7 separate regions of the Homo sapiens genome follow, and all the other regions are linked to region 2. The links are contacts of gene promoters, found by promoter capture Hi-C in blood cells and fetal thymus (Javierre and others, 2016). All regions are on one chromosome and are shown on one strand. Each heading gives the region's core, a stretch centred on a gene start or on the middle of the fragment in contact. The rest is flanking DNA. Distances are from core to core; before and after follow the strand shown. Region 1 holds the start of OCRL (OCRL inositol polyphosphate-5-phosphatase). Region 2 holds the start of ZNF280C (zinc finger protein 280C). Region 3 overlaps OCRL (OCRL inositol polyphosphate-5-phosphatase). Region 4 overlaps OCRL (OCRL inositol polyphosphate-5-phosphatase). Region 5 has its middle 9.2 kb from the start of ENOX2. Region 6 has its middle 38 kb from the start of APLN. Region 7 overlaps ENOX2 (ecto-NOX disulfide-thiol exchanger 2).

Evidence for each region. Contacts are between HindIII fragments. The CHiCAGO score rates a contact against its expected background, and 5 or more counts as called.
Region 1: a contact is called between the fragment with the promoter of OCRL here and the fragment with the promoter of ZNF280C in region 2, in 12 of 17 cell types (activated CD4 T cells, M1 macrophages, non-activated CD4 T cells and 9 more). The highest score is 16.0, in activated CD4 T cells.
Region 3: a contact is called between a fragment that was not itself captured here and the fragment with the promoter of ZNF280C in region 2, in 3 of 17 cell types (activated CD4 T cells, M1 macrophages and monocytes). The highest score is 7.3, in activated CD4 T cells.
Region 4: a contact is called between a fragment that was not itself captured here and the fragment with the promoter of ZNF280C in region 2, in 1 of 17 cell types (total B cells). The highest score is 6.3, in total B cells.
Region 5: a fragment that was not itself captured here is called in contact with the fragment with the promoter of ZNF280C in region 2 in 2 of 17 cell types (naive CD8 T cells and total B cells); the score reaches 6.1 in naive CD8 T cells.
Region 6: a contact is called between a fragment that was not itself captured here and the fragment with the promoter of ZNF280C in region 2, in 3 of 17 cell types (total CD8 T cells, activated CD4 T cells and neutrophils). The highest score is 5.4, in total CD8 T cells.
Region 7: a fragment that was not itself captured here is called in contact with the fragment with the promoter of ZNF280C in region 2 in 1 of 17 cell types (total B cells); the score reaches 5.2 in total B cells.

The regions. Positions count from the first base shown.
Region 1 is chrX:129,538,983-129,543,054 of GRCh38, reverse strand. It overlaps OCRL (OCRL inositol polyphosphate-5-phosphatase), which reads right to left and starts at 2,796. Exons shown (of 24, transcript NM_000276.4): 1 at 2,577-2,796; 2 at 2,232-2,311. The coding sequence starts at 2,615. RefSeq lists silencers at 2,583-2,782, 2,893-2,952 and an enhancer at 2,669-2,963. The HindIII fragment of the contact is 8,325 bases long and covers 1,932-4,072 here.
Region 2 is chrX:130,267,524-130,271,076 of GRCh38, reverse strand. ZNF280C (zinc finger protein 280C) reads left to right here and starts at 2,178. Exons shown (of 19, transcript NM_017666.5): 1 at 2,178-2,315. RefSeq lists a silencer at 2,398-2,477. The HindIII fragment of the contact is 6,334 bases long and covers 646-3,553 here.
Region 3 is chrX:129,592,471-129,596,021 of GRCh38, reverse strand. OCRL (OCRL inositol polyphosphate-5-phosphatase) reads right to left here. Exons shown (of 24, transcript NM_000276.4): 24 at 3,466-3,551. Among named protein-coding and RNA genes, the nearest start is that of OCRL, 54 kb to the right of the region's middle. The HindIII fragment of the contact is 729 bases long and covers 1,352-2,080 here.
Region 4 is chrX:129,575,402-129,579,210 of GRCh38, reverse strand. It overlaps OCRL (OCRL inositol polyphosphate-5-phosphatase), which reads right to left. Exons shown (of 24, transcript NM_000276.4): 17 at 3,149-3,314; 18 at 2,659-2,894. Among named protein-coding and RNA genes, the nearest start is that of OCRL, 37 kb to the right of the region's middle. The HindIII fragment of the contact is 4,103 bases long and covers 330-3,809 here.
Region 5 is chrX:130,910,549-130,914,216 of GRCh38, reverse strand. No RefSeq gene overlaps it. Among named protein-coding and RNA genes, the nearest start is that of ENOX2, 9.2 kb to the right of the region's middle. The HindIII fragment of the contact is 4,182 bases long and covers 1-3,668 here.
Region 6 is chrX:129,614,689-129,618,563 of GRCh38, reverse strand. No RefSeq gene overlaps it. Among named protein-coding and RNA genes, the nearest start is that of APLN, 38 kb to the left of the region's middle. The HindIII fragment of the contact is 7,528 bases long and covers 1-3,875 here.
Region 7 is chrX:130,885,586-130,889,586 of GRCh38, reverse strand. The region is part of intron 2 of ENOX2 (ecto-NOX disulfide-thiol exchanger 2); the gene reads left to right. Among named protein-coding and RNA genes, the nearest start is that of ENOX2, 16 kb to the left of the region's middle. The HindIII fragment of the contact is 2,408 bases long and covers 631-3,038 here.

The DNA.
Region 1 (4,072 bases), core at 1,547-4,046, 730 kb after region 2:
AAGGAAGGTTAAAGGTCAAACAGGTTTTGTCATAATCTATTATCCTTGAAAAATATGAATCTTAAGTGTTTGATTCCCTGTTTCCAAAAAAACCCTGATTTTTAATTGTAATTTTGGTCAAGCAAATTTCCTATGGTTGACAGTAGGAACCACAGACCTAAAGATTTAAGTCAGGCTTCAAGTTCTAGGATAAAAAAGCCAAAAGTAAAAAGTTCTGGACACTCGAGTCAGAAAAGACACCAGAGAGACAAGAATATGAGGATTACAGATGGTATTATGGTATTAGGTGTCTCCAGCAAATGCTTTCAAGAGAAACTTCTCAGTGTAATTCTGAGACATGTTACATAGGATCAGATCTCAGGTATTCTACTCCCTAATTGCAAACAAGTGACTTAACCTGTCTGTGCTTCAATTTCTGTATCTATAAAAGGGGGATGATGATATTACTATCTTATAGTAACCCTCACATGTGGATTAAATGAACTAACTAATGAAAAGGGCTTAGAACAGTACCTGGCACATAAGCAGCCATTGAATGTTAGTTATATAGCAACAACTATATTAGTTGTTAGTTATATGTTAGTTTATATATAAACTATAGTTTATATGTATTTAAAACTATAGTTTATATATATTTAAAACTATTTACATAGTTTATATATAAACTGCTAATATAGCAACAACTATATTAGTTGTTAGTTATATAGTTGTTATATAGTGTTACCTATATATTAATGTTAGTTATATAGCAGCCCCATACCCCCACATATACCCCCAACTATACCCCCATAACTTACACAGAATTGGAACACACGACTTCCTTATTAGCTCAACAGAGTTCCAAATCTACTAATCCGAGGGACTAGATTCTGGGCTGTGGTCATCTCAACAATGTAGCTACTCTATTCAATCTTCATGATTTTGTTTTTACATTAGAGGAAACCAAGGCACACAAGTTTTACTGGTTTGCCCAAGGGTCACCTCTCTGTAACCCACTCTAGCCTTTGGAAATGTTAGTGGTGTTCCACTTTTCTGCTGAATTTTGTTTTATTAAATTCTGAATTTAGTTTAGTTTCATTAAACTAGTCTTCCAGGGTTTGATGAAATCCGGGTTTGATGAACTTCCCAGTAGAGCTGACTAAGCAGGACCTATGAAAGAGCTACTTCACAGAATTAGCTGACATCCAGTTAGAGTGGCACCAATAGTCTCAGAGAAGAGCAGGTTGGGCCAGTGGGAATTTCTTCCGTGTAAATCTGACAGCATAGATACAGAGGATCTAAAAGTGGGGACTGAGAAAATTGGTTTTAGGCAGAAGCCAATGTTGGGAGATGGCAAGATTTAAGTGAACAATTTTTAAACTGGGAAGGAATATGATGTCAAGAAGCCAATGAATATCCAAGTGAGGTGTCTTGGGCACACAGGGATAGGGGCCTATGATACGTAATGGTCACCATGGATATTTTTGAGATAAGATATTAGTGACAATAGAGTGAGGTTAGCAGCTATGGTGATAGCTTATCAAAATAATCTTTTGATCAATCAGTCAACAGTATTTACGGAGCTCCTATGGCAGAGAGGAAGGTGACACACTGATAAAATACTGTCATTTCTATCTCTACACATTTCATTACCTTTTCTTTCTAACAGTAAAGTCAGTAAGTGAGGCAGTTTCTGGCCTACACTAAACCATTACTGAATTAATGAATATGCCTTCAACCCAGTGGGATAAGGGGACGGGGAGACTGGAGAAACCAGCTGAATAGGGTTAAGACAAGTCTGTAACGTTAACAATGAAGCATTTCCATAGCACTTTTACTTTTTGGAAGCCACTCTCGCATTTATTTTTCCCCCAGTTATAATTCCAAAGGCTGTAAGGTAAGGCAGTTAATGGTTTTATTAAACTGAAGAGTTAACTTTGGCCCAGAAAGCTTTATTGACTTGCCCAACGTTACACAACACATGTCAGTTGCAGGGGCAGGAACTAAGAACCCAGGCTTCCTGCTTCCCCGCCCATTCAGTCCTTCCACTGAGCCACACTGCCAAGCACAATCCAGAGGCTTGGAAGTTGGGGACAAAGCCCCGAGGTTAGAGAGCACTGGCACTTCACACCTGGACCTGAACCTGTTGCCCGCGTGGCTTCAGTAGGAGGACAGTGGGTGACCCGTCGCGGTTTGGGGTTGGGAGGTAATGGCAGGCTCCCCTCCTCTGTGGGAATCAGGTGGTTACTTACTCATATTGCCCGTTCCTCTGGGCTAGGGTCAGGGCGCAGGGCTCCCGGAGAGGACCCTTCATCTCCATACCCTCGACAGTATGCGGGCGCTAGTCAAGGGTCTCCTTCGGAAGCGCGGTGGGGAGGAGTGGTGCACTGCGGGGCGAAGGGGGTCTTCCACCCCCCCCCCACCGCCGCCCTCCCCCGCCCCGCCCCGCCCTGCTTCGTCTCCCGCGCCGGCCCCCTCCCCCTCTCTGCTCGGCCTCTGGGCCACCCGGTTGCCCCGCCCCACCGTGTTCCGCAGGGCCCCCGACCCCCACCCCCGGCCCTGCGCGGCCTCCCCTCTCCCTTCTCTCCGGCGGATACGGCAAGCGGCTGGGCTCCGACCGGGAGCGGCGGCTCCATCCAGGCGGCCTCCGGGCTCAGCAGGACAGCGGACTGCGGGCCGATCCGACGACACTGGCTCCCGCGTCCCCACACCCACCCACCTCGGCTGCGTGTCGTTTGAGGAACAGCTCCGCGCCGGGCGCCGGGCGCCGGGAGCCGGGAGCGGGGAGCTGGGAGCTGAGAATCTGACCCAAGAGAGAGCGGCGCCTCGCGCCCCCGCCAGTTTTCCAGGCCGCCGCAGATTCCGTCCCCTGCGGTCAAACTGCGGAACTGCAGCGAGAGACCTGACGGACTGGGGGCGTCTCTACCAGGTCCAGCAAGGAATGGGTTTTAAATGCCACCTGTGACATCAAAATTGTTCTGAGGACTTTGAAGGCCACAGAAACAAAACACAGTCATACCTATGGGAGATCTCAAACCTGTTGTGTCAATACGACCCACATCATTCAGTAAAAAAATACATATATATATATATATATATTTCTTAAGGTTATAATGTCCCGTGTTGGTTATCCTACCATTTCCTTTCCTCTTCTTTCTTCCACGCCCTAAATCGGAGAATTCCCCAAAGCCCAGACCTTTGCTCCTCCTCTGCGTCCCCTCCAGTTCACCTCTAACTAGACAATGTCCAAATATATATCCCTGGCCCAGACCTCTTACCTAATAGAGTCCATTGTTAACACATCACTGCGTCACAAAACTAACTCATTATCATTTCACTGGAAAGCCATATATCGTCTTCCCCCTCCTCATCTCTATATCCAATCAGTCAACACACCCTGTTAATATTTTACGTGGAATTACTTTTAGATTCCTTATTTTCTCTCCATTCACACTGCCATAACTTTATTGTAAGCCCTTGTGATAGCCTATCTGGGTTATTGCACTTTTCTTTAAATAAATCCTGTTGGGTTTACTCTTTCCTTTGACATGTTTACTCTGTTGACAGCCATAAAAATATTTTTCCCAAAGTAATTTTTCGATCGTGTTATTCATTTGCTCCAGAATCTATAATACACTAGATATCAAGAGTGACTGTAAATCTGTAGTAATTAAAAGTATGCTGTGGAGATAGACAATCAATGAAACACAATATAAACCCCTCAAACAGACCACACATATACGGAAGGTTGATATGCAGCGTGTGGGACATTTCAAATCAGTGGGGAAAGAATGGATTATCCACTAAGTGGTACTAGGACTACTGCTTATCCATATGGAAAATTATAAAAATTAGACCCCTACCTCAAACCATGGAAGAAAAATCAGTTCCAGGTGGATTAAAGATCTAAATGTGAAAAGCAAAACTTTATAACTTTCAGAAAAAAAAATTGAGTATGAGCTTGGAATATGGAATGAGAATAAGACATTTAGCTACATGAAATTTCAAAATGTATGTACTTTAAGACAATATAAACAAGTTAAAAGACAAACTGGCCTGCACAGTGGCTCATGCCTGTAATCCCAGCACTTTG
Region 2 (3,553 bases), core at 929-3,428:
AAACAGTCAACTGACCAGAGCCCGCTGGTCTTCTTGGCTGTATTTTTCACGAAAAAAAGAATAAGTTAGATTGAAATTTGGGTGTATAAGTGTTTTCTGGTCATCCTGCTGAGGCAGTTTGACCATTCCTCCTCGTAATTTTAGGTTGGATGTGGACACTCGTGACACTAGATATGACAAGAGAATTTGAGAGAAATTTTATTACCCTGGGGACTAGTGGGGGTAAGTGAGGGAGGGCTGGGTGCTGCAAACAGGTCTGGGCTGGTTTCAGAGGCAGAGGAAGTTGGATGGGCCTTTATAGCATCTAGGAAGTGGGGCTGGTGAAAATGCCGCACAGGCTGTAGATTTGCAAGTTTTAAATTTCTCAACTGCACCAATTTTTGTTGCCAGTTTTAAATTTCCCACCAATGCCAAAGAAGGAGGCAGGCTGGAGAATCACAAGTTTTAAATTTCCCACTACAGCCAAAAGCAGAGTCATGCGGCTGTAGATTTGCTAGTTTTAAATTTCCTGCTGGCATCAAAGGAAAAGGTGCCCGGACTTTCTTATCACCCTGACCGGAAGCAGGGACCAACTATGCATGCTCCAAGATTTTGGGACTTTTCACTGTTTTATTTTGATTATTCTCTGTCTTTTCCTGTAAAGCTTATTTTCAGGGTCAGAAGCAAATAGCTGTATAAATAAGAAAGAAAAAACTAGCTCAAATAAAAAAAATGGTAGGATTCAGTGACAGGATTTACGTGTGTGTTATGTAAGCCACACGATATTTTCAGTCTGGGCAACTCTTAAGAGATGAATTGGGCCAGGCGTGGTGGCTCACGCTTGTAATCCCAGCACTTTGGGAGGCCGAGGCAGGCAGATCACCTGAGGTGGGGAGTTCGAGACCAGCCTGACCAACATGGAGAAACCCCGTCTCTACTAAAAATACAAAATTAGTCGGGTGTGGTGGCGCATGCCTGTAATCCCAGCTACTCGGGAGGCTGAGGCAGGAGAGTCACTTGAACCCGGGAAGCGGAGGTTGCGGTGAGCCAAGATCACGCCATTGGACTCCTGCCTGGGCAACAAGAGCGAAACTCCGTCTCAAAAAAGAAAAAGAGAGATGAACCAGTACTGCTATAAACCTTGTGGAGAAATTTGGGAGAAGAAACTTTTACAGTTCAAAGCACAATGTCTAGAAAATGTTTCTGTAAGCAGTATTTTGGCAAGTGTTTTTCTTGTAAATGTATTTACAAGTTCCAGTGATTCTCCCGCCTCAGCCTCCCAAGTAGCTGGGATTACAGGCATGTGCCACCACACCCTGCTAATTTTGTATTTTTAGTAAAGATGGGGTTTCACTATGTTGGTCAGGCTGACTGGGGTTCAGAGAAGGAGGAGGAGAAAGGCGAGGAGGAAAGGGAAGTGGTCTCAAACTCCTCACCCCAGGTGATCCACCCACCTCAGCCTCCCAAAGTGCTGGAATTAGAAGTGTGAGCCACCGCGGCCAGCCCACGGACGGACGGCTGGTACTTACATGTGCACAAGTGCAGCTACTTTACTTACCGTCGAAGGCAGCGGAGGAAGTGTAATTGACTAGCGTGGATGCAGCTTTTCTAAGCAAACGCTCGATTTAACCTGGAGTTGTCATCCCACAAAATACATTGTACCTGACTACAGAGAAACATGAATTCTGGGTCTTCCTTGTGTGTAAGAGTAAATGTATTTTTCCTTAGCATTTTTTGTACCTACTATAGGCATCCATATGGCAATTAGAAGTAACAGAGAGACAAGCAAAACCATATGTTTAAAACAAAAGGTAAAAATAACTAGTATTTTGAGACGTGTTTCAAGTACAGTATTTCCAGAAAACAATATATTTATATTTTTAACTCGTGTCTTTAGCCCTCACACACAAGGAAGACCCAGAATTCATGTTTCTCTGTAGTCAGGTACAATGTATTTTTTGGGATGACAACTCCAGGTTAAATCGAGCGTTTGCTTAGAAAAGCTGCATCCACGCTAGTCAATTACACTTCCTCCGCTGCCTTCGACGGTAAGTAAAGTAGCTGCACATGTGCACATGTAAGTACCAGCCGTCCGTCCGTGGGCGGTTAAAAGGCCCCGGATGTTCAGGGGGTGGAGTCGGCGTCTACCCATGAGGCAGCGCGTGCAGTTATATACTTCTGCCCCCGGCTGAGACGCCGGTTCCGCGCTGGAAGTCTCCGGGGGAGTCGCTGTTGCTGAGGCTGTCGCCTGAGGTTTTTCGCGCTCCTCCCTTTCCTCCTCCTCTTTCTCCTCCTCCTTATCCGAACCCCAGTCAGACCGATCTGCTCTGCTCTCGGTAAGCGGCCCCCGCCCCCGCCTGTGCCGCGCGGAAGGAGGCAGCAGCTCTCCCGCGCGGCCGAGGCAGCCTTCCCCAGAGGGCGGTTCTGAGGGCGGCTGGCTGAGGGTCTCTATGCCGGTGCGGATCGACGGGGGTGCGGGGGAGGGGACAGGCTTGGCGGCGTGGTAGCTGGTGGGCCACCATCTTGCGCCGGGCCCTGAAGGGGGAGGGTTTTCTGGAGGTAGAGCCTGGCGGCCCGCGGCGGGCAGTGGTTTCGCGGGCCGCGGCAGCTGCGGCAGCCTTCTCACCTCCTGAGTCCTGTCGGTCTGTTTCCAACCCGGTTTGGGCTTTTCATTCTGGAGGCAACTCCCTTTCGTCTTTTGTACGGTTGATACTGATGTTTGACGGAGACCCGCCCACCCTCAAGTCTCTTCAATCAAACGAAAAGAGACTTGAGGGGATTCCGAACTTTCAGGCATCAGAGACCCTGTGACCCCTTCTTTCTGCGCAGGTTCCCCCCACACAGGACCGGTCATTCCATGCCCACAACCTTGTTCTGGCCAAAGGGACTTCCCTTCTCTGTCACAGAAATCGTGCTCTATTCCGTTATTGTCTAGAGGATAAGAGCCCTGAGGAGAAACGTGGAGTTAAATACACTATATTCTAACTAGGAGGTTTGCAGGTTTTACTTAAAGAGATGGAAAAAATTATGCTGAGGTATACTCCTGCTCTAGAGATGGAGGGAGTTCCTTTCAACTTCTCTCAGGTTTTAATGCTTTTTTAAGGAGAAATTCGAGAGGAAATTGTCAAGTGAACCAGCTTCTGCAAGCACGGGAGACCTTCATCCAGGGGATTCTCTTTGTTTGGAAAGATTTGTTAGTTTTGTGGAGTTTTTTAAATCTGCGACCTTAAATTTTTTTTACTATTGTTTTCAGGTTTGGACTATGAGTTGTAATGTCTTTTAGTGCCCCTAAACATAAAATAGAAACCTAGAAGTAGAGTTTTAAACTGCAAAAGTCTCCTCTTAGTATTTGTGAGGTGTCCTGGTTTGGGGGTTACTGTGCAAACTTAATCTCCTTACGCAGAAACTTCACTGAGCCTACAAAGGCACTGATTTGCTTGTAAAATTAGGGCTGTGTACCTTTGATGTTTCTACAGCAGTACAGATTCCATTATAATCGTATCTTGCATTTGTATATTTCATTGGTAGCACCCCTTTTGAGATGGGCTGTAGGGTGTCGTTAGAACTGTTTGAA
Region 3 (3,551 bases), core at 467-2,966, 670 kb after region 2:
ATCTGTAGTGACCTTGGGTACTGTTAATTTGCATGTCTGTCCACCCTCATCCCTGCCCTGCCCTCTTGATGAAGGCACCATGAGAGCGGCAACCTTGTCTGGTTTAATTCTAGATCCCCAGCACCTTGAACAGCACAGGGCGCACAGGAGCCACTCAACAAATACTTGTCAAGTGAATAACCCATACTGAGATGTAGGAGGAGGAGTGATGGTTGATGGGGAAAAGTCCAGAGAGGGTGGAGGAGAAGGGCTCAAAAGTGCAGGTGGAAGAGCTGGTCTTGGCGAGGAGGACCGCTTATTCTCAGACAGATGGAAAGGGGGAGGGATGAGGTTAAGCTGAAGACATTTTGATGTGCAGGGGGCAAGGCTGTTTTGACATTTTCACAAAGTAAAGGGTACAGTCACTTGCTGGGAGCTGAAGGGCAGCAGAAGCGGGTTCTGGGCCTGGAGGCCCATGGAGGGCTTGGGAATAATTGCACTAGCTGCCATTTATTTAGCACTTAGGCACCAGGCACTGTTCCAAGGCCTGGAAATGTAGTATCTGATCTCATCCTCATGATGATACTATGAGGAAAGGTGCTATCATTACTTTTAAGATGTGGAAACACCTTCAATACGTACAATTTGTCTTCTCAATTATACCCAATAAAGCTGGAGAGAAAAGACATGGAAACCAAGGCACAGAGACGTCAATTAACTTTTGATCAGGGTCACACATCTAGAAGTGGCAGAGCTGGGATTTGAACTCAGGCAGTCTGGTCATTAGAGCCTATGTGAAGAACCACTATAGCTTCCTGCCTCCCCAGGCCCCGTGGAGCAGGTACGTGAGGTCATCAAGAGAGGAAGAGGAAGATTGTGGAAGAGTACATGGCAAGCCCAGGGGCAGTCAGCCAGCATGCTATACCAGGAAGCCCAGGAATGAGGGCAGAGAGTCAATGGGACAGGGCGGGTGACTTAGGGTTAGGCACAGCAAAGATGGGGACTGAGGCAAGAAAGAGAGAGGAAGGAGTTTTCTGGGTAAACAGCACATGCAAAGGCCCTGAGGCTGGAAAGAGTTCAGCTCACTGGGAGGAGTAAAAGGACAGTATCAGAGTATATTGGCAGGGGTGAGGAAGGGTTATGGTAGGCAGAGGTCAGATCCTTTAGGGTGGTATTCTCAAAGTGTGGTCCTGCATCAAAATGCTCTTGGGTCCTGATTTAGAATGCAGACTCCTGTGCCTCCTCTCAGACCAACTGACTCAGAATTTCTGGAGCCTAGGAATCTGCTTTTTAACAATGTATCCAGGTGATTCTTCTGCACATGAAGATTTGAGACCCATTGATGCAGGGCCTGGTGGGCCATGGCGAAGCTTAGGTTTCATTGTAAATGTCGCTGAAGGGTTATCAACAGGGGAGGGATGAGACTGATGTAATTAAGTCATGCTGCCTGCTGCGTGGAAAATGGATTGGAGGGCAGCAAAGTTAAAAAGACCAGGCAGGGCATGGTGGGCTCATGCCTCTAATCCCAGCACTTTGTGAAGCCAAGGTGGGAGGACTGCTTGAGCCCAGGAGTTTGAGACCAGCCTGGGCAACACAGGGGGACCCTACCTCTACAATTATTTTTTTTTTAATTAGCCAGGCTTGGTAATGTGCGCCTACAGTCCCAGCTACTCGGAGGCTGAGGTGGGAGCATCGCTTGAACCTGGGAAGTCAGGCTGCAGCAGTGAGCCGATCATGCCACTGCACTCCAGCTGAGGCAACAGAGTAAGACCCTGTCTCAAAAAAGAAAAAAAAGAGAGAGAGAGAGAAAGAAGACTAGGCAGGAGGCCATGACGACACCCTAAGAAGGGATGATGGTGGTGGCCTTGACCAATAAAATTGGCAGTGGGGGTGATGAAAAGCAGACGCGTGGGGCACGTTGCTGAGGTGGTCGGTCGGTAGGAAAGAGAGAAATCAAGGCTAACTCCTAGATGCTTAGCCCCAGCAACTGGGCAGATGGTGTTGACATTCTCTGAGCTGAGGGAAGACAGGTAGAGGATCTAGGTTGGGTGGTAGTAAAAGAACCAGAAGTAAAAGAATTCCACTTTGGACGTGTGAAGCTTGACATGCCTGTGAGACATCTGAGGGGAGATGCCAGCTAACTAATTGGATATACTGGGCAGGAACTCGGAAGAGAGCTATGAGGTGGAGACGTAACATTTGGAATCAGGGGTATTACAGACATTTACAGCCACGGAAATTGATAAGATGCCACCAAAGGAATTAATGGGCAAGCAGAGTAGAACTGCTTGAAAAAACAAATGCCACTATGCCATGCAGTGTCACTAACCTAAGTAACCTTAGGTCAGTCATTGTCCCCTCTGAGACTTTCCCTATCCAAACAATGAGATTGGATTAGGTCACCACTAAGGTTCTCTCCCTAACATTTAGTGATGCCACTGTTGCAATGTGTGGCTTTTACATTATGAGGCTACACCAAGAGCCAGTTCTTCAACTTGCCCTGCAATCAGAAAGGTCCTAATGGGTCTCCTATAACAGAAGCCTCACAGCTGGGGATGCCATTTCCTCTCTAACCTCTGGAAAGACTGACCACCTGCCTGCTATTCTCATTGCCTGCTACTATGTAAAAACTTCTGGTGTCAGTCTCCATCTGCTGGGGGGAAAATCACTCTCAGAAAGAAACACCTTCTCCTGCCAAGGCTTTGGGTGGGGCTTTGAAAGTTGTTTATGACAACACTGAGTCAGCACATTCATCAGGGTCAAGCTCACAGTTGGAGGGAATTGGAAGAGGGCCTTAGTAGAGAAGAAACCTCCAGCTGAGGCTTCTTCAGTCTCAAAGGGAATGGAATCAGAATCCACAAATTCATAATGGAGATTGGCAGGGAAGCATTGGCACCATGCTCAAATCAGCGGTTTCCTCCCAACGTGTTAGGCAGTTCAGATTAGAACAACAAAAAAGTACTAAATTTATGGACTTGATCACCCCAAGAAGTCATAAAAGTTCAAAACTGGTTTTCAAAAGCTGCAAAATAGGATTATGTGAAAACAAGCTCTTTGGGGAAGCGCGTCTAAACTACTGAGACTACTGAGCAGGGGTAGCTGGGTTCTCCCCAGATGTGTATCTTAGGGTTTGTTTCTGGGGCCGGAGGGATCACAGATCTGACCTAGTGTGACATTTACATGCATTAAGAATCAACATCCTTTCCTCTAATTGAGTTGTTTTGTTGCCTGAATCCTTAGGGTTAAAATAAGGGTACTTGGCTGGCCTCTGAAAGTACAGGACACCTTTATTAGCCTCTGAAAACGCATGGTTTCTTCTCATCTCTGAGGGTGAATATACTAAGAATTCTTATAAATGGTATTTCCCTGTAAGACAGGTGATGACAGTGCAGGCACAGCTGATGGGGACTGCAGTCAAGTCGAATGGAACCCAGTGACACATAAGCCCTCCCTTCTGAGTGCTTCCTCACCAAAATCACACTTTGCTTTTTCACACAACATATATTTATTCAGAAAAAAATTTGCAATAAATTATAATAAAAAAGATGACACGAAATATAGAATCCCACTAG
Region 4 (3,809 bases), core at 1,132-3,631, 690 kb after region 2:
TGCAGGTTGAGTATTCCCAATCCAGAAATCCAAAATGCTCCAAAACTCGAAACTTTTTGAGTACTGTCATGATGATCAAAGGAAATGCTCATTGAAGCATTTCAGATTTCCGATTTCCAGATTAGGGAAGCTGAACTGGTAAGTATATAATGCATATATTTGAAAATCTGAAAAAGATTGAAATCTGAAACACTTTTGGTCCCAAGCATTTTGGATAATGGATAATCAACCTGTATAGATAATTTCCTCATCAATGAGATACAGGAATTTAATAACACTGAAATGCAACAGACTGTGAAAAGAACCCTAAATCCTACAAAATAAAAGCTTTAAAAGAAAAATGATGTCCACACACATACAATTTAATAAAAACTCAGAAATTCTGTAATTAAAAATGATCAGGGTTCTATTATTTTAACCCTCAATCACTTGTGCACAAAAAGAAGGAAAAAGGCTTCCCAAAGAGCCATTCATTCCTCTAATGATTTTGGTTCCTTTCTGTTCATGGGCAAACATGGTAAAATTACCTGATAGTATACTTTACATAAAATAAAAACTTTATGAGGGTTGAGCCTCTTCTGGCCAATCCCAGAATATGAAAAACTGCAAAGTTTTTCATATTAATGGCTTTGCAGTTTTTCATATTAATGGCAAAGATATTCTAATATCTTCACTGACTCTGACTAAAAATAAGGGTAGGTTCCTGTTTACATGAAGGTGGAAGGAGAGAGTATAAATGGGATAAGTTTAAAAAAAAAAAAAACAAGAAGGAAACAACCAGAAAAATTTAGGAAATGGTTGACCCTTGACTGGACATTTGTACTGGACTCTTAAAAAAGTCAATGTCACTAAAGAAAGTAGGAACTGTACTACTCCAATAGAGACTTCAGAGACCTCACCAAATACTATATGAACCCAGATTGGATTTTGGTTTAAAAAAAGGTATAACAGAAATTCTTGGGACAACTGAAGAAATCTGAATATGGACCGAATGTTAAATGATACTATGGATTACTGTTAGTTTTCTTATACATAATAATGGTATTGTGCTTAAGTGTGCCCTTTTTGTTAAGAGATGCAGGCTGAAGTGTTCAGTGGTGAAGTGACATATTACCACTAAATTTTACATGACACAGCAAAAAACATCTGTGTGTATATATGTACAGAAGGCATGTGGGGGTGTGTTGTACTGTTCTTTCCATTTTTCTGCACATTTGACATTTTTCATAATAAAAAGCTGAAACAAAGAAAGCTGGGAAATAATGTCTGAGATGAAGGAAAGGGGGTAGGAGAAATAAGAAAAACAACTTCATCATCCAAAATGTATTCTAAAAGGTGAAATACTAAAATCTAAAAGACAGAAATATAATGTTAGGAGAAAAACAATTATCATGAAAAACAGCAGAACGGTAGGATATGAATTTCTGAAGAAAATGGTTCTCTCTCAAACAGAGGTAATATACTCAGTCATGAGGGCTCTGGGGAAATAAGTATAATTCCAAGAAAGAATGCCGGGGCTGGACTCAGTGTTTTAATCTGCTATCTGAGTCACAGCTAAAACAATTCCATGGCAACAGAACAGATCGGACTCAGACAAGCCAGCAGCCTGCCTGCTGGTCTAGACCTCCCTGCTAGATACAATCACTCGCTCTGGCTAGGCCTAAAGGATCCATGTGAATACTAATGGTAAGGATAACGTATGCTGTCACCTCACCTAATTTTCTTTGGTAAAAAAACCAAGAATATACTTTTGTAGCCCAAAGAGATTCTGCATACAATCCAACAATATTTTCATTTAGAAGGAAATTTCTTAATACAATGAACTTTATTACTAAATCAACTTATGTTACTGAAGATAGTAAGTACTTCCTTCATAAAAACATTAATATTATAGCTTGGCTTGAGGGAGAGGTGGGAAAATCAACCTCCTTTTCTTTCTTAAGCACATCACATTAAGTAAGTATCAAATTTCAATGTACATTATAAGCATCTGGAATGCGGATAAAATGCAGATCTGTAGGCTCCATATCCTGAGATTCTGATTCCATTGCCAGAAGTGAGGGTACCTGTAATAAGCACCCCCAGGGATTCTGATTCAGGTACTCCAGGGTTCCAGGATAGTTCTATGCTTCCATAAATAGCAAAGTTTTACTCTGATTAGATATAATGTGGTATTAGTGAGGAATACTAAACTGGGAGCCAGGAAATCTGGGTGCTAGATTTGTTACTAACTGATGGTATTTGACTCTGGGCACGTCAATGTCTCTGTGCCTCAGTTTTCTCATATGCTCAAATGAGGATAATTCTGCCTGCCCCACTTAGCATACCTCACGTACATGCTAATTTATACAAAAGTGACTTGAGAGTATGAAGAGCTTAACAAACAAGCATTATATCTTTGAGAGGGGAGTCTTTAATCTTATTTGGTGAGCTTAGTATTATGTATTGTACTCACAACAAGAGCCAACTGCAGATTAGTCCCCCCTCTTTCCCCTTAGGCTTAATCTAATCAAAACAGTGCTAAAGTAACATTCTTCTTTATCATTTGACATCCCCCGTGGCCAAAAGAAGACAGAAAGCACAAAGATAATGAGGACGTCACTTAAGTATTGTGAAAATTAAATGTAAAAGAGGTTTATGTCTTGGGACAGTTCTTACCAAGTCTATGAGTTTGGTAACAGGAACTTCTCGGATTGGTCTTTTCATACGGCACAGAGCCTCTAAGGATGTGCCAAAACAACTTGGGAGGTAATTTCCACTGATAGTCAAGAAGTAATCTTTGCCTCGATCCAGGTGAAGGACGAGAATATCTTCAATCTTATCTTCTCCCGAGTTCAGGATGGTTACAGAGTCTTTGCTGACATACACATCAAGAGAAATGTCCACTGTCTCATCTGAAATGTAAGAGATGATACATGGTAATAGGAAAACCTCCAGTGGGAAAGCAAAAAAGAGTATAAGAACCAACAGAAAAGTGTCCTCTAAAAAAATCATTAAGCAATGAGGGGGAAGAGACAGGACACACACCAGAGGTATCACCAATATGACAGTAAAGGTAAGAGACATGTGGTTAGAAAACAGAAAGTTAAACCAAGGGGATGGGAGTCATGACATCACCAGCAGAGACAATGGTAAAGGGAAAACTCACTTGGCTCCAAGTAGCCCTCAAAAGGTTCAGCCCGAAGCCATGGCTTGCAGTACTGGCTGTCATTAAGTTTAGGGATGAAAGAAAAATGGCAGGGAACCTGTCCATTGTTGCTGATCTGGAACTTCTCCTTTTGTAGTTGCCGAAACTTCACATTTTCAAACACAAACTGGGGAATAACAGACAGACACAAACATGCATCACTAGTAGGGGAAGTAAGTCAGTTGGATTATTCCATAGAGGATATGAGGAGTAAGGTAATTGTTAAGCAGGTGTGCAAATGCCATAGACATTCACCAACTGAACCAACTTCACAACATCCACTTGCATGTATTATTATACTCACACCAGCAGAGAAGGAGTTAGGTGGCTCTTGCTACTTCTCCAGGCTACTCTGATCATTCCTAGGATCCTAAGAGGGTAACCCAACCTTGGTTCAGAGTATTCATCCTGTGACCAAGTCCTGGTTTCTGAGATATAAATTAACTAGCAACTCTGAAATATTAAATAAGAGCATCTAACAGCGGAGGGCTTACTATGTGCCGGGTGCTGTTCTGAGAGCTTTGCATGTATTAACTCATGTAATCCTTACAACTACCCCTTAATCCAGGAAAGGAAACTGCGGCTCTGAGCGGGTAAGATACTTGCCTGAGGTCATACATCT
Region 5 (3,668 bases), core at 624-3,123, 640 kb before region 2:
CAGACTCCATAGAAAAAAATGTGTATGAAAACACCTTAGCCTCATTGGATCCTGGCAGGTGAGGATGGGTGATTGGCTCCCCAGACCCATAGCCCATCATACTTCTCCCCCTGTCTATAAGTCCATTAGGTTATGCCATAAGTCAATTTCAAAATAAAGTGAAGATGCAAAGGAAGTACGAGGTACATCAAAATCCTTGCCTGGCTAATTCTTAGCTGTATGGATTTGAATACATGACTTCATCTCTCTTGCTTCCGTTTTTTTCATTTGTAAAATTTCGATGGTAATTATAATAGTATCCATTTCATAAGATTGTTATGACGATTACACGAGCCAATATATTGAAAGAGCTTGGATTCTAAGCTCTAGAACAAGAAGTTGGCAAGTTGTACTCAATGTTAGTATAGTAGTACAAGTAATAGTAGTAGTAGTAGTAGTAGTAGTAGTAGTAGTAGCAGCAGCAGCAGTAATCAGGTTTTGAGGTTAGCATCCAACCCCTGTCTGTTTTCAGCTGGATTACAAATGGGTCTTTAGGTGGAGAACCTTGGAGAGTTTGTCAATATGGTATGGGAGAATATGTTTTTGGATCTGAACCTACGATGGAGGAAAAACATGAAGATATTTTTCTTAGCACTTCCTCCTCTGTCATACTAATTCAACTCATCATTATTTATTTTATGATATGAAGTTTTACTGCAAAAGCATTCAGTGTTCCCATTCCCTGGCCTTGGCAGATGTTGCCAGGTATGGGATAAAGTGAGGAACGTGACATTAGAATGAGACAGCAAGGAGAGGAAATACATATCCAAAATTCCTCATACAAAACACTTAGGGGCCGATGTTTTCTGAAATTCATTATTTGAGAGATTTTAGAAAGGTAATATGGTATATATACATGGTCTATAATACCCCTGGTAGGTGTTACAAACACATTAGTATTTCTATATCAAAATGAATATTCATAGAAATAGGTTGAAGACTGTAAGTAGCCTTATGTTGATTCAGGTCACATTTTGCTACCTAATGAGTTTTGGTGGTAAACTTATGAAAACTTTCGGTTTTTGAGATTATTGGATTTATAGATAATGGGTCATGGCCCATGGTCTGGTAGCTCAAGAATGAAAGCAAAGAAAAATAGTTGAGACCCACTAATGAGATCCTGATGAAGCCTCCTTGGTTGTGAATTGGTGGCCCAGTCTTCACTTTTCTCCAGCCAGAGATTATACCCGTCTTCCAGCCCGAAGTCCCAAAAGTGCCTATCACTTTGAGTGGAAGGTTATGGATCACGTAAAGCAAAGTTGTATCTACTATAGATGCAGAAAACATGATCTTGGGATTTGAGCTTTGCATATACCAGGGTCAAGTTTTGACCATGAGTCGCATCAGGAAGTAAAGGACTGGAATAGAGCACTCTGATTTGCTCTTTCCATGTACTGAGATTATGCACAAGATTTTAACTAGAGAATAGGTGCTATACTATAGCCAAAGAATGTGCGTCAACCATAGCATCAGAAAATAGGTCTCTTTGAGTTTGTCTATTTGGATTTTGTTGAGTTCTCAGATATGTAGATTCACATATTCCATCAGGTTTGGGATATTTTTGGTCATTCAGATATTCTTTGTGCCCCTTTCTCTCTCTCTTATCCTGCTGGAGTTTCCATTTATGACAACGTTGGTCTGCTTAATAGTGTCCCACAGGCCCAGCAGGAGCTTGTTTAGCCATACTGAAGGCAGGAACATAATCAATCCCTCTTGTCCACAGCATATAGACTCCCTGGGGAAAGACGTAGATGCCAGATACAATGTAGATAAGCCAAGCCAAGCCAAGAGCAGACGGTAGAAATAATGGAAAGTTGGCTGTACAGTCCCTTGGAAATACTGTTGGCAAGGCTGATATTTGGGCATAGAGAAAAGCATGGAGGCCTACCTCAGTGGTCATCCACCTTTTTGCTGCCCCCATACTCTTCACACACACAACACACTATCACGAACTTACATTTTACACTCAGTGATTCTCATGGAGAGGGTGCCCTAGAAGCTACATGTACCCTCACAGAGATGATGATATGCCCCCTTCTGTACACTCTCTCAGTTCCTCACAGGTTCAAATCACTGTAGGGAATGACACAGTGGAAAACTAACATATTCTTCCCACTAAATCCTTCCCTGTGTCACTCTGCACCGAAGCCCAAAATGTCCATCAAAAGCCATTCCTGGAGGCTGAGGTATTCAGAAGCAGCCTGAGAAACCAGCAAAAGCCTTCAACTGAGAGTTGGACCCATCTGGATTCTACTCTTCACTCTGCTACCTACTAGCTGTGTGATATTGAGAAAATAAACTCTCTGAACATGTTTTTTCAACTCCAAAAAGGGCATCATCATAATATGAACCTGATGAATCCAAGTTCTTTCAATGTATTGGCTCATTTAATTGTCATAACAATCTTATGAAATGGGTACTATTGGCCGGGCGCAGTGGCTCACACCTATAATCCTAGCACTTTGGGAGGCCGAGGCAGGAGGATCGCCTGAGCTCAGGAGTTCGAGACCAGACTGGGCAATGTGGTGAAACCCTGTCTCTACTACAATAAAAAAAAAAATTAGCCAGGCATGGTGGCATGCACCTGTAGTTCCAGCTACTTGAGAGGCTGAGGCAGGAGAATTGCTAGAACCCAGGAGGCGGAGGTTGCAGTGAGCCAAGACTGCGCCACTGCATTCCAGCCTGGGCGACAGAGTGAGACGCTATCTCTGAAAAAAAAAAAGAAAAGAAAAAGAAAAGAAATGGGTATTAATATTATTCTCATCCCAATTTTCCAGATGAAAAATTAGAGTTGCTGTAAGAATTAAGACAAAGTTGACAAAGTCAAGGGGTCAAGGTGAGATGTAAATCTCACATATGTTATATGGGCCAGGTGGCATATGCAAAAAGCACAGTAGACTGGGGTCAGATAAAACTGGATTTGAAACCTGGCTCTGCATTTACTAGCTGTGTGGCTCTTTTGAATCTCTTAATTAGCTTAACAGCTTTTTAAAATCTGTATAATGAGGATAACAACACTTATCATATTGGACTGTCATGAGCCTCCATGGGAGAATGTAAGTAAAAACAAACATGCATTCCATAGATATTTATTGAACATATAGTGAGTGAGATATAATGGAGATCAGTGTAGCCTGGGGCAAGATGAGGAATGGTTTAGAAAGGGTGCTCAGGAAAACCAATACTGGCAAAAAGAACATGATGTAAGAGCTTAACAAATGGGACTTTCTGGCCGGGTGTGGTGGTTCATGCCTGTAATCCCAACACTTTGGGAGGCCAAGGCGGGTGGAACACCTGAGGTCAGAAGTTTGAGACCAGCCTGGCCAACATGGTGAAGCCCGTCTCTGCTGAAAATACAAAAAAATTAGCTGGGCGTGGGGGTGGGTGCCTGTAATCCCAGTTACTTGGGAGGCTGAGGCAGGAGAATCACTTGAACTCAGGAGGCAGACGTTGCAGTGAGCCAAGACCGCGCCATTGCACACCAGCCTGGGCAACAAGAACGAAACTCCGTCTCAAAAAAATCCCCAAAAAACAAACAAAACAAAACAAACAAACAAAAAACCAAATGGGACTTTCCATTTTTTGCAAGGTTTTCCAACTTGCATTAATTCCACAATTTATAAAAATGT
Region 6 (3,875 bases), core at 1,284-3,783, 650 kb after region 2:
TGGATGGGCAGAAATGGGGATGTGGGCAGAGTGGTCCAAGCAATAGGAATAGAATAAGCAAAGTCAGGAATGCAAGAAAATGGCCTACTCGTGGAAAGCGGGTATGCATCTGATATGGCTGGAGTGTCTGGTGCATGAAAGGGAGTCAAATAAGATGGGGTAGGAAATAGGTGGTGCGGTGGCTGACACCTGTAATCCCAGCATTTTGGGAGGTTGAGGTGAGTGGATCCCTTGAGATCAGGAGTTTGAGACCAGCCTGGAAACATGATGAAACCCCATCTCTACTCAAATTACAAAAATTAGCCAGGCGTGGTGGAGCATGCCTGTAATCCCAGCTACTCGGGAGGCAGAGGCAGGAGAATCACTTGAACTTGGGAAGCAGAGGTTGCAGTGAGCCAAGATCACACCACTGCACTCCAGCCTGGGTGATGGAATGAAACTCTGTCTCAAAATAATAATAATAACAATAATAATAATAATAATAATAAAGATGAGGTAGAAAAGGAAGATGGCTTTAAGCTCAGTCTTTAAGCATTTGAGGATGATGGTTCTCATGGCACTTTAAGGCGTACAGTAGCAACTGATTCAAGGAAAGGTAGGCATGCCCCTCTGACCAGGCTCAGCCAAGGCGAAGCTGCCCATTTCCCAGAGGGCCTTGCTGAGCTTCACAGGCCAGCCACTAAGCTCTATGGCGACTGTTCATTCGAGGACAAGAATGGAAAATTCATCATGCTCAAGGCAGGAAATTCCACAGTGAAGGCCTCTTGAGCTATATCATTGCAACAAGAGCCATTCCCCGTGCAAGACAGGTCCCATTCCTGTTTTGTTTGTTTGGGGACTGAATGTTGTTATTCCCTGCTCTGCCTGTGTTTATGTCAGGGAACGTTTACCATCAGAAAACAAAGTCCAGGCAGTAGACCCACCAATGCAGCCAACCACGGAGCCCTTCACTCTGGCATTTCCGGGCTTGTTCCCACCTGATGGATTTCTCAGTTGAACAACATCAAAGGTCTTCTTCTAGCTTCCCCGCCCCCCGCCATCTTAAAGGGACTGTGCTGCTGAGAGGAAGCCATTTGATGCTGGAAGCAAAGCAATTTCTGGACTTGGCATCCTCACCTGTCTTCAGCCTGAGTGAGAAGCAAAACAGGCTTGTCCCGCAACCCCCAGCAAGCAGTGGCACAGATCCCAAGGCCTGGACCCTCAGGCTTTTCTGCTGGTGGATGTATATCCACAGGAGCCAACAGGGCCCAGTCCTGGGAGAGCAGCCCTAAGACAGCAGTTCTTGCTGAATGAGATCTCAGAATTGGAATGAAAAGCAGGAGAGGCAACATCACCAGCTTCCAGGATGAGCACATTTATCTTGCAGATAAAATAACTGAGACTCAGAAAAAAGGGAGGAGGGTGACAAAGAGACCCCAAAAAAGGGAAAGAGAGTAGAGGAGGGGAATGGTGCGGAAAATAAAGGCTAAAAAGAGAATAGAATGGGAGTTGGAGGAAAAAGGCTACCCCTATGGCCTCTGCAACCTTCTGGCCAATGGTTCCTCTATGCCTTTCTTCTGCCCCCAGCCCTGACCCCCACTTCGCATGCTCCACCTCTCACCTGGGCCTAATGGACATCTTCACTCCTCATGGCACATGGGTCTCTGCTTCCAGCCATCAGACAGCTGAGCACATCCCCCTGGACCCAGGTTGGAGTCTGCCACCCCATCCCAATCCTTCTTCTCCTTTGAGATTCAGCTCAAGTCTCCCTTCCTTGCTATGGCCCTCACTGCCCTTGCCCTCTTCTTAGACAGCATAGAGCTCAGACTGCATAGTTTAGCACTGGGCTGTGTATCGAATGCCACATGGGTTTCCCCACTCCCTCCTGCATGAGATAACACAATCCATCAGGCAAGGCAGAGGCCAAGTCCTGTCCTGTCCTCTCCTCTTCTTCCAGTGGGCCACGCCCTGTGGGCGAGTGAGCTATATTGCTATGATCCAATGAGCTTCCCCTTCGCCATGGGGATCCACTGACCACTAAGGCTAGTAGTGACTGAGGACATAGATTGGGGAGTGTGTGAATGAGTGTGAAAGAGAAAGGGGCCCCAAAATAATAGGAAGAGTCTCTGACAGGGAGGGGAATCCACTTCCCAAGAAAAGGTAGAGAGTGATGATGCCTTGCCAACCGCTGAGACACTGAAGAGGGTAAACAGAAGAACACTGACCCAAGGCTGGGCACCGTGGCTCATGCCTGTAATCCCAGCACTTTGGGAGGCCGAGGCCAGCAGATCACCTGAGGTCAGGAGTTCAAGACCAGCCTGGCCAACATGGCGAAACCCTGTCTCTACTAAAAATACAAAAATTAACCGGGCGTGGTGGCACATGCCTGTAATCCCAGCTACTCGGGAGGCTGAGGCAGGAGAATCGCTTGAACACGGAAGGCTGAGGCAGGAGAATAGCTTGAACCCAGGAGGCAGAGGCTTCAGTGAGCCAAGATGGCACCACTGCACTCCAGCCTGGGTAACAGGGGGAGACTCCGACTCAAAAAAAAAAAAAAAAGAATTCACTCAGAAAAACGCTGACCCAGATCTCCACTGTGTCCAGACCAGCCCACAGAGCAGCTCCTTGCCTTGGTGCTGAGCCCTCCGTCCCAATGCCCTGTGGGGCAGGCCCGGCACTCAGCACTCAGGTGACATTCTGGCAGCGTGGGGCGGGGGGCATTTGTGAGGGTAAGGGTATGGGTGTTGCACCCATCTGGTGACACTCCCTGGCCTGAACCCCACTGGGTCCCACGCCAGGGCCCAGGTGCTTGCACACTCAGCTGCAAGGTCCCTTGGATGAGGTGACTGCCTTGGGGCAGCCACATGTGGGTGAGGAATGGAGCCAAGCTGGGCCTTGTCTCACTCATCTTTGAGTTCCTCTTGCTAACTCTGCCAGCACCTAGCACTGTGCCTGGCACACAATGGGTGTGCAGTAAGCCCTGGCTAATTAATAGTAATAGCAGCTGTCATTTATGAGACACCTACTGTGTGCCAGGCATGGTGCTGAATGCCTTTCAAAGATGATCTCATTTAATCTTGACAACCTTACAAGGAAGGTACTGCATTTGAGTCCCATTTTACAGATGAGAATAACACTCAGAGAGGTTACAGGTAGCTTGTCTAAGGTCGTATGGCAAGCAGATGGTTGGGCTAATATTCAAGGTCAAGTCAATGTGATGCTAGTAGTCAGGCTGGTAACCCCATGCTGTAATGTTGAATAAACGAAAGAACAGGAATCCATGACTGTGACTTCAATAGCCTTATGCTCAGAGCAAAAGACATATGAATCCATGAAATGTGAGGGTCTGAGATACAGCCCCCCTTCCATTGTGTGTGTGCACATACCCCTCCCCCCGCACACACACCTTGGGCTTTGAAAGCCATCTTTTTGGTGCAAACATTGCAACCTCCAGCAGGGAAGTGACGCTGCAATGCAGAGCACAGGCTGTTGCGGATTGGAAGGGGAAGGAAGGCCTGTGCCAGGGCTGCCTTCACACTAAACATAGAAACCCAGAAGGACAGACAACAGCTGAGGTCCTCAGCAGTGCCTGCACCAGGAAACTGATAAGGTTCTGGGGAGAGGGTTTGCCCCTTTGAGAGTTTTGGGAGCCTCTAGTGGCTCTTTGACTGTCCCCTGTCCCCAGGAGGGGCATGGGGGTGGGGTCATTTCAGCACAGCAGCTTTCCAAGCCCAGGAGGGATGAGTGGGTGCCCTTGGGCCCAACTGCTTGTGCCAAGCCTCACCCAATAGCCGACAAACACAAGCAGGCTCAAAAAGAAGAGGAACATCTAGGGCAAGCCAGGCCAATGCCTCAGGTCTCACATATACTAGGGCCTCAAGCTGGACTACTGGAAA
Region 7 (4,001 bases), core at 585-3,084, 620 kb before region 2:
CCTCCTCTCTTGTCTTTTTCTCCCCTTCCCCCTTTCAGCAGCTCACTTGCTCTTAGCTACCAATTACCTGTTATGTGATTAATATTATCCTTTTCCCAATTGGCTTAACATAGATTTTGGATATATATTTTACTGGCATCTTCAGTAGTAGCAATGACGTTCAAAGGGGCAATTAGAAAAAGTTTTCTTTCTTCTTACAAGAAGTAGGATGGGCACTTGTTTGAGGGCACAGATAGCACTGGATGGGACCAAGAGGAGCTGACATCTGATATCCCTGCTCTATCCCCCACCTTTCTTTTGGCTGCTTCAGATTTGGTTCATGTGGACAAACACACTTGGGAACCACCATACAGATGGAAATCAGGACATGTGGGATTTGGCTGAACCAAAGATCCCCAAACATTGCCTGGATCATTTAGTGCCCCAGGTGTGGCCACCCCAGGACTTCATGTGCTAAAATTGTGTCCCAGCTGAAGCCAGCTGGTCACTGTATACATAGGATCAAGGCAGCTTGGAGCCTCATAAAGCATAACTTTGGATTTTTACCTTGTGGATTTAGATTTAGTTAATCACCTTGAATCCTCCCCCAACACACTGGGCAATGAGGATGTAACAGGCAAATAGAAAGCTTGAACAAAAGGAGATGCTCATTATCTAGTAGTTTGCATTCCAGATGGGACATAATGCTAGACCATATGAAGAAAAATGGACTGACTTTCCAGAAAGGAAAGAGAGAATTTAGAGGGCTCCAGTCTCTTTAATAAACTTTTGATGTATTATTTTAAAATTTTCTCAAAAACGTTCCCTGCTATAGAATTTTAAGAGCAAACAGCGATTCCGTCTAATTTAAAAATTGTAAGAATTGAGCAGTGTTTCATGAAATTATATTAGTTCTTTCTTTTTATTTGCCTTATGTGATAGAGGTGCCTCACTTCAATCATTAAGGCAAGATTTGTTTAGGGCATGGTAGTAATAATCCCATACAATTGTATAACCCTTTACAATTTACAAAAGGGTTTTCATACCTATTATCTCATTAGCTGTTCACAGCAATCCTGTGAGACAGTCAGGATAGGTACTATTATCTCCAGTTAACAAATAAAGGGAACTTAGGCTCAAAGAAGTTAAGTGACTTGGCCAGAGTCACATAGTTAGAAAGTTGTAGAACTGGAAGCTGAACCCAGGTTTCCTGATACCCAGCCCCAGTGCTCCTTCGGTTGTATCATGTTTCCTCCCAAAGACACTATCTCCTTTTTGTTCCTACTCGTGATTAATTTTAAAATCCGTCTAAAAATGAGCTTTAGTTTAGTGGATGAGTAAAACTGAAGCACTTACATGTAAAGTGCTTTCTCAAGTCACCTAATGAAGTGGGTCCTGCACATAGCTCTTGGCTTTTCACCTTCATTTTAACTGAACTATTTTTAGGTAGACATAGATTTGTTTTTCAGTGTTAAATATATGGACAAAAGTTGTGTGATCCACTGATTATAGGTGTGAAAGCTGCGCTTGGGGAATGGGACTAGGGATGAAGAATTGCCTTAAAATAATTAGCTTCTTGCCTTTGTGTTAAGAGATGTCATGTTCAATAGAATTTAATTTCTTTATACTTCCTTTGCTTCCAGCCTTTTAAAAATACAATTCTTTAGGGAAAATTAGCAAATATTCATTCTGAATGTTGATTTCTCAGGAATAAGGGTAGCCAGAGGAAAGAAAAAGCAAAGGGGTGACTTTCTGTGCCCTGTAAGAGTGGGCAAACATTATTTTGTTTGGAGCTGTGAGCTAAGATTTCTTCCAAGGCATGCAAATCGTAAAGTTCTGATTTGTCAACTGCATGCTGTTTCTTTAGGCACTGATGTATGAAATCCCGAACGAATTCTCCAATGAACATACTGCTAATTGCTTCTCCACCTGCTCTCCAACCTCCTCCACCCCACCCCCTCCACTCCCAATTCAGCCTATAAGTGTCCGTCATTGGAGATGGATGGTGACACATGCAGTAATAGCAATTCATAAAAGCCAGTTCCAGCCCTTGTCTTCAAGGCTCCTGGATTTTCCACTGCCTGCTTTTGTGTAAGTGAAGTGGATGGAAGTGCTACTGGCATCAGAATCCTCCTCCCTATGCTCCGTTGCTGAAGCTCAGTTGCTCGGCTGGAGCTGAGCTAAACAGAAGCGTCAGATCTAAGCTGAATTATAGCTATTTTTCTTTTTCCTCAATGGGGTGGGTGGGTTAGGGATAGGGTATAGTGGGGGTTTGGGGTGCTTTGGCTTTTCTTCTTGTGGAGAGAAGAGGGTAAGGAGAGAATAACTCACGATAGGATACAACGTGAAACAGTTCCCTGAAGAGTGTCACAATGTTCCTGGTACAATATACAGGTATAGTATGTTTTGTTTTATCTGAATTTCCCCTTTGTTTCAAAGTGCATTTCTTTCTTTTATTTTTCCTTCAGTTCAACTGTACTGAAGGACAAATAGGGTTCTAATGAGCTAAACAAAATAGCTGCATAAAACATGCCTGCCCCCAGCTATAATGTTTGTAGCAGATTGCTGTATAAAATCTGCGTTTTCTGTTAAACTGGTAGTCCCGATCCCTTAATTGTGCACGCTTCTCTGCTGTATTCTTGTATTGAATTTCTCAAGTCTTATGTCTGCAACTGGTAGTATGTGATATAGCTTAGAGTGTTTGCACAGAAGACAGTGCTTTGGAAGCAAAAAGCAATTTTTAAACACTTAGTGTGTTATGTTTCTCTAGAGTTTATTAACTCCTGTATTTGTTAATTGGTTGTATAGATTTGGGATATACCTAAGAGTAGGGAAACTTCAAACAGGAAGCATTCCAGGACACATCTGTTTGGTAAATTTAGTTATTTTTCATTACTGAACTCAGGTTGATGAACATTATATATTATTGTTGTTTGTTTATTCTCCTGACAGAAAAAAAAAAGTGCTGGAAACAGCAAAGCTACAAATACGAGCCCCAAACCATCTGTATTGTAAAATATCCTTGGATCAAAAGTGTTTCTTAAGTATTCTCTTAAGCTTTCAGAAACATAATGGTCCATAATAATGAAGAAGATTCTGATCAGGTATGGGCGAATGTTTTTTGAAAGGCTTCTTACACAGCAGTTAGACAGAAAGGTCCCTTGCAAATGAAAAACCCTGAGAAAGTTTCACTTTCTTGCTTCACAGAACAGAAGCTTAGTTCCTACAACCACGTTGTTTTGATAAGTTTGAATATCATTTGTTGTCAAGGACTTTCATCTCCATTGTTGCTTTATTATTCTTAAAATATTATGCTCCTACGCTTAACAGCTAAAAGATCATGTTCTATTTTGATGCGTGGTTTGACAGTTGATTTCGCTCCTCATTAATTGGACAGCATGCAGATGATGTGGAGAAGTGAGTGAGTGACAATATTTCAAGGTTACGTTGAAGAGCATACAGTGAACCTTAGTGCCTGGACCAACAGCTGCTGAATTGAATTGTCTGCAATTAAAGCAACAGCAGGTTTGTGTAGTCTCCCTGCAGCCCATTTATTTGAATTTATAGCTTCAGTTTCTTCTTTGAGTATTGGTTGGTTGGTTCTGCTAAGTGTTGGAAAGTTGTGCTTGCTGGATGTTTTCTCTGTATTCCAATGCATGCTTGACTCTAGAAGAGCCTTCTGTGTACATTTTAATGTGAGAAGTTGTTGAGGCTTTTTTCTTACGGTTAAAACCAGAGATTGTCTTATTTTCTCCACTATAAAATTAAATAGATTTACATGGAAAATATTGCTTTGTTGAATAAATAGAGATTTCTCATGGACCAGTGTTACTGGTTTAAGTTTCTGGCAATGAAAAATGCTGGACTTTGTTATGCTACTGGAATTACTATATCTGGGAAGAACTTCTCTCTGCTAATAAAAATGTTTACATTTTAAAAACGACATTATCTCCTTGCCAGCTCTCAATTCCACAGTGACCTAATGAATAATTTCAAATCTAACTAGGTGGCTTTTATGACTG